2 separate regions of the Homo sapiens genome follow, and region 2 is linked to region 1. The links are contacts of gene promoters, found by promoter capture Hi-C in human tissues and cell types (Jung and others, 2019). All regions are on one chromosome and are shown on one strand. The core of a region is centred on a gene start or on the middle of the fragment in contact, and the rest is flanking DNA. Distances in the headings are between cores, read along the strand shown.

Evidence for each region. The method cuts DNA at HindIII sites, captures the fragments that hold promoters and counts their contacts. A contact is called where the count stands out against the background at its distance.
Region 2: a fragment that was not itself captured here is called in contact with the fragment with the promoter of TLE1 in region 1 in 1 of the 25 tissues and cell types used here (mesenchymal stem cells).

Annotation. Positions count from the first base shown.
Region 1 is chr9:81,686,652-81,691,615 of GRCh38, reverse strand. It overlaps TLE1 (TLE family member 1, transcriptional corepressor), which reads left to right and starts at 2,069. Exons shown (of 20, transcript NM_005077.5): 1 at 2,069-3,399; 2 at 4,182-4,282. The coding sequence starts at 3,376. TLE1-DT (TLE1 divergent transcript) reads right to left here and starts at 1,903. Exons shown (of 4, transcript NR_109772.1): 1 at 1,657-1,903. RefSeq lists silencers at 1,522-1,671, 1,822-2,171 and an enhancer at 2,044-2,758. The HindIII fragment of the contact is 9,578 bases long and covers 1-4,964 here.
Region 2 is chr9:80,495,164-80,500,127 of GRCh38, reverse strand. No RefSeq gene overlaps it. Among named protein-coding and RNA genes, the nearest start is that of LINC01507, 670 kb to the right of the region's middle. The HindIII fragment of the contact is 3,236 bases long and covers 1,280-4,515 here.

The sequences.
Region 1 (4,964 bases), core at 820-3,319:
CCTGGGATCCTATGATTCCAAAAAGTCCTGTATGTCGAGCAAAACTGTCATCGTCACCAAATTTAACCAAGGAAAGTGAGGCAGTGCTTTCTTCTTTTTTGTTCTCCATGTTAGCAAAATGAATAATACAGCCGCCTTCCCAACTGTACTTAATGAGAACACCACAAAGCTACAATGCCCAACTTGTTTAAGAATTTACTATGGCTTCGTACAGACTGGTTAAAATCGCTTTTTTATTTTTTCATTTATAATTGATATTTGGGAGTGATGCAATTATAGACAAATCAATATCATACATATTTAAAAACAACTCCAACAGTGAAATGTATTATCTAAAATGACTTCTAAAACTATTTCAAGAAAAAGAACTCTGTAAAAGCACATCTTTAAATAAAATGTATGTCTGTTTAAATAAGCTCCTTCCCGTAAGTCTCTTGAAGGTAAAATAATAAAATAATAACGTGGGGGTTATTAATACCAAAAACTTAACTAGTTTCCAACATAAGATAAATACTTGTCCAAGATGTGCCCTTATGGAAGAAGTTACCACCGTTTGGCTAAACCAGCATTATTCATTCACTGCTCATGTGGAAATGTTCCTCAAACAAAAGCATAAATGCGGCAATACTGACGGTTTTCTGCTGTGTATTTAGAGACATACACAAAAACCAAAGACTCTCAGCATTAATTATACAGCATGTCTTGATTATTACAATCTCAAAATCCCTTTTAACTCAAGTTCCACTTCATAAGAACCTTAGCCACGTCATTTACCTAACTCTTCCCATTTAGCTCTTCACACAGCTCAGCTCAGGAGTACCACCCAGACTGTGGGGGTGGGGTGTGCGGGACAGGTTTTTCAGGTCTCAGTGCTGGTTTATTACATTGTCTCTCTTTGTTCCCAGGAATTGGAAACAGACTCGTAGTCTTGTAGCTGAGAAGTTCCTAAAAACCTCAGCCGCTCCCCACCTCTCCCAACACAGCGAAGTCAGGACTTTTAAGACGAAGACCTGGGATTTCGCGCCCCGGGCAAAACGTCTCATCTGCGGACACGCGTGCCTTGTTCTGGCAGCACCCTGGGAATCCTTCCCGCCAAACGGGACAGGACGATCTTTTTGAAAAGTGGCTTGAAATCCTGCAATAAAAATCAAATCCTACCACTTTGGGTGCAAAGGGGGTGGGTGGGGTGGGAGGACATCACAGTCGTCTTTGCTGGTGTACCTACGCCAACCGTGGCGTTGCTCATTTACGCATTTCCAACTAAGTGCACAGTCCACTCCCTCTCGTACATCCGTAAAAAGGCAGCTCAAGGAAAAACAAACCTCAGATAAATTTTTGAATGTGGCCTCACTTTTAGAGTAGCATCAAACAAGGGGTCCAGCACTGAAAAACACATTTGCTCGAATTACCAAAAGCCCCCCTCCGCCTCCAATAAGAAACTCCGCAGCTAGTCTTTGAGTTACTTTCACTTAGATCTGAGGATTTTCATTAAAGGGAAAAGTGAGCAAGTGGCAGGATTTTTGCTAACTCGAGCCCTCAGCTTCCCCGGCTGCACGCTCGCCAGTCCCTCCCGCTAGCGCGCGCCCGCGCGCTCTCTAGCCAGCCCCACGTTACTTTGATTGACAGCCCAGCCCCGCCGCTCTCCTTCCCACCGACCTTCCCATCATCAGTGCCAATCTCCGCGAATCGCCGCTTCCCATTGGCTGGTTTTGGCGTCCCGCGGCTCCTCCAGGAACAGTTCCTCACCAAGCCCGGGAGGACGCGGCTGGCGGAGGAGGGGCCGGGATGGGAAGGGAGACCGAGGAGACGGCGGAGATGGAAGCGAGAGGAGGGGGGGAGGGAGAACGCCCCGTCCGGCGCTGCGCTGCCATACGCTCCGGGGAGGAGCGCGTCAGCGCCCCACGTTGGTTGCAGCGCACGCGATTGGCTGATGCGGGCCTTCTGCCCCCCCCCCACCCCCCAACCTCCCGGGCTCACGTCCCCCGCCGGCTCCGCGCTCGCGCCCCCCGCCCGAACGGGGCTGGGCGGGGCCGGCGCTGGTTAGCTCCGGAGTGTGAAACCGCGTGTTAATGTAAGCGGCGCGAGAGGCGCGGGCGGCGGCGGCGGTGGGAGCGGCGGCTGCAGAAGCAGCAGCAGCAGAAACAGCGGCGGGTACTCTGTGCCCCGCGTCCCGGAGGCAGCCGACTGCGCCACCCCACCCTCGCACGGCCGGGCGGGACCCGCGCCACCAGCCCGGACCTCCGTCGTCCCGCGGCGACCAAAACCCCCGCTGGCCCCACCGCTGTGACTACTCTGGACTCGCCCGCAGAGTTTGCCCGCCGGGGAGGGTGGCCGATTGGCGGAGCGCACTCCTGCTGTTTTCCCCACCATCTCGTGGATGTCGTCCCTCGGGTGGTGAGAGAACTTTGCAGTGGGCTGGAGCGCCCTTTGCGGAGAAGCACACGAAGGTGAAGGAAGGAAAGAAAGAAGACCGAGGAAGAAGGAGCTCGGAAGAAGGGTCCGGAGCGGCCGGTCCGGCCGTGCAGGGCGAGTGCGCCCGAGGCGCGGCGCCCTGATGCTCCCCGGGCTCGAGGAGCATTGGGCACTTGCGGGACTGCTCTCGGTGGAGTAGCCCCGTCGGGCCCGGAGGGTTTGTGCAACCGCGGAGAACACCGAGTGCTGGTCGCACGGGGCGTGCCGAGCCGCCTCCCGGCGCGCCCTCCGCACTTTCCCCGCCTCGTCATCCGTCGCTCCCCGGCCAGGAGCCTCCGCTGCGTCTTCAACCTCGCTCCCCTTTGCGTCCCGGGAGCCTGCGAGCACCCGGCCGAAGGCGCAGCCGAATCTTGCGGGAGTCGCCCCGAAAGCGTCGGGTTTGTGTGGGGTTAGCGGGGGCCGCCGCGCCACCTGCACCTCGCCCGCCGCCGCCTCGGGGAAAGCCCGAAGAGGAGGCGGACCAGGAGAAGAGCAAAGAAAAGCAGTCCGTCTGGATTTGTTTGCCCAGGACTGGCGCCGCGCACGCGGATCGCCGAGGGGAGTGCGGTCGGAGTCACCGCGCCCCCGCCTCCCCGCCCGGGCAGCTGAGGCCGGGGGTTGGAGCGCTGCCCCCGCGCACAGTCCCCGAGCGCCCGACGTCTCCGCGCAGGTTCTTGAAGCAGCTGGGCCTGGGGCGCCCACTAATGTGGCCCTGAGGGCCGGAGCCCGCACCGACGGGAGCGGGAGCCGGAGCAGCTGCGGGCGCCGAGTGGCCGGTGCGCCCGGCGGAGCGCGCGTGCGTGGCCAGCGCGCTCCCCGCTTCTGCTTGGCTTTCCGGCTTAATTTTCCTCGGCGGGATTAAAGTTGGAAATTGACCGGAGAATTGAGTTGCCGGGGAACAGAGCCCCGGCCGCCGCCAGAGCGATGTTCCCGCAGAGCCGGCACCCGGTGAGGCGCGGCTGGGTGGTGGTGGGGGGCCAGGATCGTTGGGGAGGCGCTTCTCCCGGGCGGTAGGGAGACTGGTGGCTTCTGAGGCCCGGCGGACCTTCTCGCCCTCAGCGGTGTAAGGCTGGGGAGGTCTGGGGCCCTCTCTTCCTGGGGTGGGGAGTGGGCCGAAACTCTTAATTTTCTCCCTCCCTTTGGGCTCCTTCCTACTTGACGTCTATACCGAGCGGACAGGGGCGCTGGGGAAGGCTGGGGTTTCTCTCCTGCAGCCATATCCCCTCTACCTTCCCCGAGTGGGGGCAGGGCGCCCCCCCCTTTGTTTCTCCTCTCGCCTATTTACATGTCAATGCGGCCCCGGTTCCGGTGCGTCTGGAGGTGGCCCCGGCGACTCTGGGAATGGGGAGCGTAAAGGAGTTGTTTTTCTCCTCTGGTCCCCGGGGTCATTATCGCCGCCGTGGGGGAAGGGGCGGCGACACCGACAATCTGGCCTGGTCTTCCCTGGCCGCCGGGGAGCCCCCTTCCCTTTGGCCTGGTGACCCGGGCGCACTTAGCGCAATCCGCCCTGGAGACTGGGAAGAGCTTCCGAGCCTCTTTAGAAGCCGGGGCCCGGGGAGGGTCCGCTTTCCCCCTCCCCATAGTGAAGGGCAAACTCGAGTTTGGGGCCTCGTTTTCAGCCACTTCTAACTTTATGTTTATGTCCCACCCGTTCTTGCCTTCTCTGACTTACTGCTTTATTCATCCGCCCGCATTCCCGTCCCTCGGTCCCCCTCGCTGGTCGCCCCCAGACGCCGCACCAGGCTGCAGGCCAGCCCTTCAAGTTCACTATCCCGGAGTCCCTGGACCGGATTAAAGAGGAATTCCAGTTCCTGCAGGCGCAGTATCACAGGTGCGTGTCCGGCCGCGCCATGCGAGTGGTCGCGGGCGTCCCGGTGCCCCTTGCACCCAGCCGGGTGGCGGCGGCGCCTGTACTTAGTTCTTGCGTCCAGGCGGTGGCGTGTGGAGTCTCAGTTAAGACCTGTCATTCAAGTTACCCCCTTTCCTGGTTCTTCCCGGGCCGCCTCTTCTCTTGTCTCCTCCTCCTCCCATTGTTTCCCTTTTGCCGGTTTGCACTGTTCCAGGGAGTCCTTTTTCATGTCTTTAGGAGTTGCATGAGAATCGTCAATATTTGCACTTCATGTATTTATTTTTCAGCAGACTGAGCTGAAACATTGGTTCAATCGATGTCTCAGTCCTGGAGTGTGGGTTCAGGGAAGCAAAGCCATGTTGAAATCGCTGTTTGCCATACTAGAAAATTGGGTTTTCTGAGGCAAAGTCCATTAAGGAAGGCTAGATGCTTATAACATTGCCCATCATTGGTGATGGTGAGGGAGGTGGGTATAATAGTATAAAGAAGAAAGCTCACCTGCTTTGGCGTCATTTCGGATTGGTTTGGGTAGGATGAGAGAGTGGAGTCACATTTATATCCATCTCAGCCTTAGTTTCTTCAAGTAATGAGACTTACCTTCAAAGGACTTATAAATTTTTGTAAAATACTTTGCCAATAGTGAACTTCCCAGAAAGGTTAGTTT
Region 2 (4,964 bases), core at 1,648-4,147, 1.2 Mb after region 1:
CATCATGTACCATTTGTGCATGAGTTACAGTAAAATAGATTCCTAGAGGCTGGATTGATGGCTTGACAGATATGTACACTTTAATTTGGATTGTCACTACCAAATTACACTTTTAAAAGCTTGTTTGGGCCGGGCGCGGTGGTTCACGCCTGTAATCCCAGCACTTTGGGAGGCCGAGGCGGGTGGATCATGAGGTCAGGAGATCGAGACCATCCTGGCTAACAAGGTGAAACCCCGTCTCTACTAAAAATACAAAAAATTAGCCGGGCGCGGTGGCGGGCGCCTGTAGTCCCAGCTACTCGGGAGGCTGAGGCAGGAGAGATTGCGCCACTGCAGTCCGCAGTCCGGCCTGGGCGACAGAGCGAGACTCCGTCTCAAAAAAAAAAAAAAAAAAAAAAAAAAAAGCTTGTTTGGATTTACAACCTTATCAATTGCATGTCCCAGAGCCTTTTTCACATAATCTTAGCAGCCATATTATTTTTAAACTTTTGATGGTATATGGTATAAAGTAAAAAATGTATATCTCATTACTATTTTAATTTGCACCATCCTAAACAATAGAAATATTAGGCATATTTTTCTATTTTTGTTGATTCTTCTTATTTGACTGGCTAAGTTGTGACTTTTGTGCATTTTTTTCCATTAGTTTGTTTGGTACTTTACCGATTTGTAAGAGCTCTTTTTATTTAAGCAATATTAATGTTTCATATGTGTTATATATTACCCGTATTCTCTTCTCATGTGCCATTTTTTTTAACCTTAATTGTGGTGACTTTACCTAATTGATTTCCAAAATTTTGGGGTAGTCAATCTATCAGTCTTTTCTCTTATAACTTCTGGCTTTGTTTGCATTGCCTCAAAAAGACTTTCCTATTCAAAAAGCAATATTCCTCTAATATTTTATAATTCTGAAGTTTTTATGTGTGGATCATTGATAAACTTGGAATTTATCTGAGAGTTGATGGGTTAGGGGCACAATTATTTCAGATTAAAGAAATAGCCAAATATTTAAAAAGAATTATTTTCTAAAGTAGAAATGTGCTGTCTTCAGATCTAGTTATAAAACCACTGTGTGATAGTCCATACTCTCTCTTCTCTGTACCTGTTGGGTAGGCTGTGTATATCACTGTAAGCCAGAAGGAGCCTGGGTCCTTGAGCCACTGCTAGAAAGGAAGCTGCTAGGGAGAGGTCCAGATTCACACTGTTCTGTGAGCAAGAAATATGTCTTTATTTGTTTAAGAACTGTGATATGGGGTTTATCTGTTACTGCAGGGAGAATGAGCTTGTCTTTGCTGATGCAGGCACCAAATATAAGTAACCATACTCTGGTATGCACTAAATGTGCTGTAAGATTTCCGAAGAATGGAAAGACATCTGCATTAATAATAAAAATTAATAAAAGATTTGAAAGGTAGAAAATGAGAAGAGCACATAAAATTGTGGAGCCCATGTGAGGGCTACAGGTGATAAAGTGAGAAAACAGAAGCATTCTTAGGGAAGGATCTGGAAGCAAGGCTATATAAGTAGAGCGGACCCGGACTATTAACTAATATGAAAAAGCTAAGTTAAAACAGAGACAACTAAATCAAACTAACTGTTCCATAAGATGTTTTCTGGGAGGTACCTCTTTTCCTGTCTTGAAGAGGCTTCTCTTTTTCCTGATGATTTATTCTGAGCATTGTATCTGTACACAATGCTTCTGTATCAACTGAGAGAGTCGTGGCCCAGGCTACCCTCCTCTATTGATTGCTGTCCTCCTGGCCTCAGGGGAACCACTTGTCACCTCATAGTGACTATGATATCTACTACTGCAGAGGAGAAAAAATTCTTAGCTGTTGCAAAACATTTTCCAGTGATTTAAGGATCTAGCAGTCTACCAACTCACTGTTATAATGAGCTGTGGGGCTTTTCCCTTGGATTTTGCAGGACGTGCCCTTGAATTATTTATAACAGAGCAGCCACCTGCTTGCGACTATTTTCCATTTTGTCTTGTGTTCAATCGGTCTTGTCAGTGGCATCGCGAGTACAGTAGCACTCTGCATTGCACCCTTCAACCCCCTATTAGAACAGTGCTGACAGTGAGCTGCCACACACCTTAAAAGTTCTATTCCACTACAGCCATGGACTTTGTCTAAATAGATAGTTCTATAAGCTTCATAATGAAGAGAAGTGCTGGTTCAATTGTTCAGCAAGGTGCTGTCAACTCCAGCACTGAGAAAAGTCTTTCTCTTTTCTGGAAGACTGAAATTGATGAATATACATGCTTGTGTTGACAAAAAGCAATTTGGGTCGGGGGGAAGGAGAAACCAACCCACCTGCATTCAAAGTACAGCTCTGTGCTGGCAAACAAGCAATGCCTTCGCTCTTTTCTTCCTCCACTTTAACAAAAAGAAACATTACATGTTTGAGTAGACAACAAGAGGTACCATTAAGATACAGAAAATTGAAAACCTAGACTGCAATAAAAAAAAAAAAAAGACAGTCACAGGGGAAATTGTAATGGCTTCCCACGTTTTAGTGGAATACTTCCGTTTTTTATTCACCTCGCAAACAGTGTTCACAAACAACAGCAAAGAACAAAAGCTGTGATTTATATTTATGGACAGGTATACACGCACCCCTGACCTCCTGCTGCCTTCCTCACCCTTCGTACCAGAAGCAATTTATGGAGGCTGGTCTAAATAAACATTAAGGAGGCAAGGCCACAGACTGACAGCCAGGAAAATTGATGGTCTCCAGAAACCAGCAAGTAGGATCAATAAAAGAGATTAGGCATCACAAGCTAGTGTAAGGCTGTTACAGGTAAATGTGGCTTGCTCGTCATCTGACAGGGTTCTCAGCAACAGGATAAAAACTCATATAAACAGAAGCACACAGCGAGCAGCCAGTGGTGGCTTCTCCTGGGTTGCAGAGACTGATGGATGACCCCAGAATGAAAGGGATTTATATAGGGGCCTTTGGGAATTTTCATTTGCTCTTCCAGCAATGGAGCAGCTGCAGGAATGGGGCAGGAAGTAGTGCAGATGTATCCTTTGAAAAATTTCTCTGCGGTTGGGCACGGTGGCTTACGCCTGTAATCCTAGCACTTTGGGAGGCCGAGGCAGGTGAATTGCCTCAGCTCAGGCGTTCGAGACCAGCCTGGGCAATACAGTGAAACCATGTCTCTACTAAAATACAAAAAATTAGCCTGGCATAGTGCCATGCGCCTGTAATCATAGCTACTCGGGAGGCTGAGACAGGAGAATTGCTAGAACCTGGGAGGTGGAGGTTGCAGTGAGCTGAGATCATCCCACTGCACTCCGGCCTGGGCAAGAGAGACTCAGTCTCTTAAAAAAAAAAAAAAAGAAAAAAGAAAGAAAGAAAAATCTCTCTGCTTTTGCTTCTCACAAGTTAGCTTTCTCTGGATTTATTTATTACTCCTCTCTGAACACAGGACAGCATAACTTAGCCTGCCCTGTCCTTCTATGCACACACACACAAACACACAGAAACAAATACACACACTCACCTTCAACATTTCTTAACAGGATTATTTATACTCAGATGCACAGTGAGTATGAATGGGAACTACTATGTTGCAAACTTAACTCTCTTTTCATAAGTCTCTAAAGAAAACCCATGCATTCATAACTTAAAACATTGGATTGTTAACTTGCAAGCTGAAGAATGAAGGATAATTACATTCTTGAGTTTGCAAGTTAATGTCCAAAGCTTGTCAACAAAAGAATGAAGTATAATTATGTTCTTGAAAAGCAGGGATACTAAGAGGAAGAACCAAGACAAAATAGATTTTTCCTTTTTATGGAACAGGCCAGTTAGAACTTAAAAATTCAAATCTTAGCTTTGTGGGAATGGTTACTTTAAAACCAAAATCATGCTTTGTTTTGGCTGAGAATTTTCATTTTAGAAATGGTGGTAAGGCTTCTGTCTGACAAGAATATAATGGAAACACAGATGAGGATGAGTATAGGAAGAGAAAGTTTAATTTCCTTGATCACTAAAAGACAATTGGAATTTTAATTGTATTTTAATCTAGGGACAGGATAAAGTGAGGCTAATGTTCTCAGTAGTGGTAAATTAAGAAAAATACCACACCGTTTTGCTTCCCTTGAATCTGGGGATTCCCTCCATTGGGACTTCCCAAAGCTGACCTGACACCTTGCTTTGACCAATGTGATGTGGAAGGTGTCATGTGAGTTCTCCGCTTAAGTTTCAAGAAGATTTAAAGCTTATTCTCTTGATGTTCCTGGATAACACAATGTGAACAAACTCAATGCTGTGGTTTAAATGTCCCCTTCAAAACTCATGTTGAAATTTAATTGCCGTTGTGACAATATTAAGAGATGTAGTATTTAAGATGTGAGGTGATTAATGGTGTTATTGAGGGAGTGGCTTAGTTATTGCAATTATGGGTTCCTGATAAAAGAATAAAGTTTGCCCCTCCCTCCTCTGTTTCACATTTGCCTTTACATCTTCCATCATGAGGTGATGAAACACAAAGTTCCTTGCCAGATGTTGACACCATGCTTTTGGACTTCCCAGCCTCCAGAACTGTGAGAAATAAATTTCTTTTCTTTATAAATTACCCAGTTTGGGATGTTCTGTTCTAACAGCAGAAAACTGACTAAGAAAGAAAATTGGTACCAACAAATGGAACTATTGCTATAACAGATACCTAAAAATATGGAAATGGCTTTGGTTTGGAACTAGATAATTAATAGAAGCTAGAAGAATTCGGAGGAGAAGGCTAGAAAATGCCTATATTGCCATAAAAGGAGCATTATAAGCAAACCTGGTGAAAGCTTAGAAGAAGAGCAGAGCTATAGGGAAAAACCTGAATATTCTTAGAGATTACTCAAATAGTTATAACCAGAATGTTGGTAGAAATATGGGAAGTAGAGACCATTTTGATGAGGTCTAAGACAGAACTGAGGAACCAGGTATTGGAAACTGGAGTAAAGACC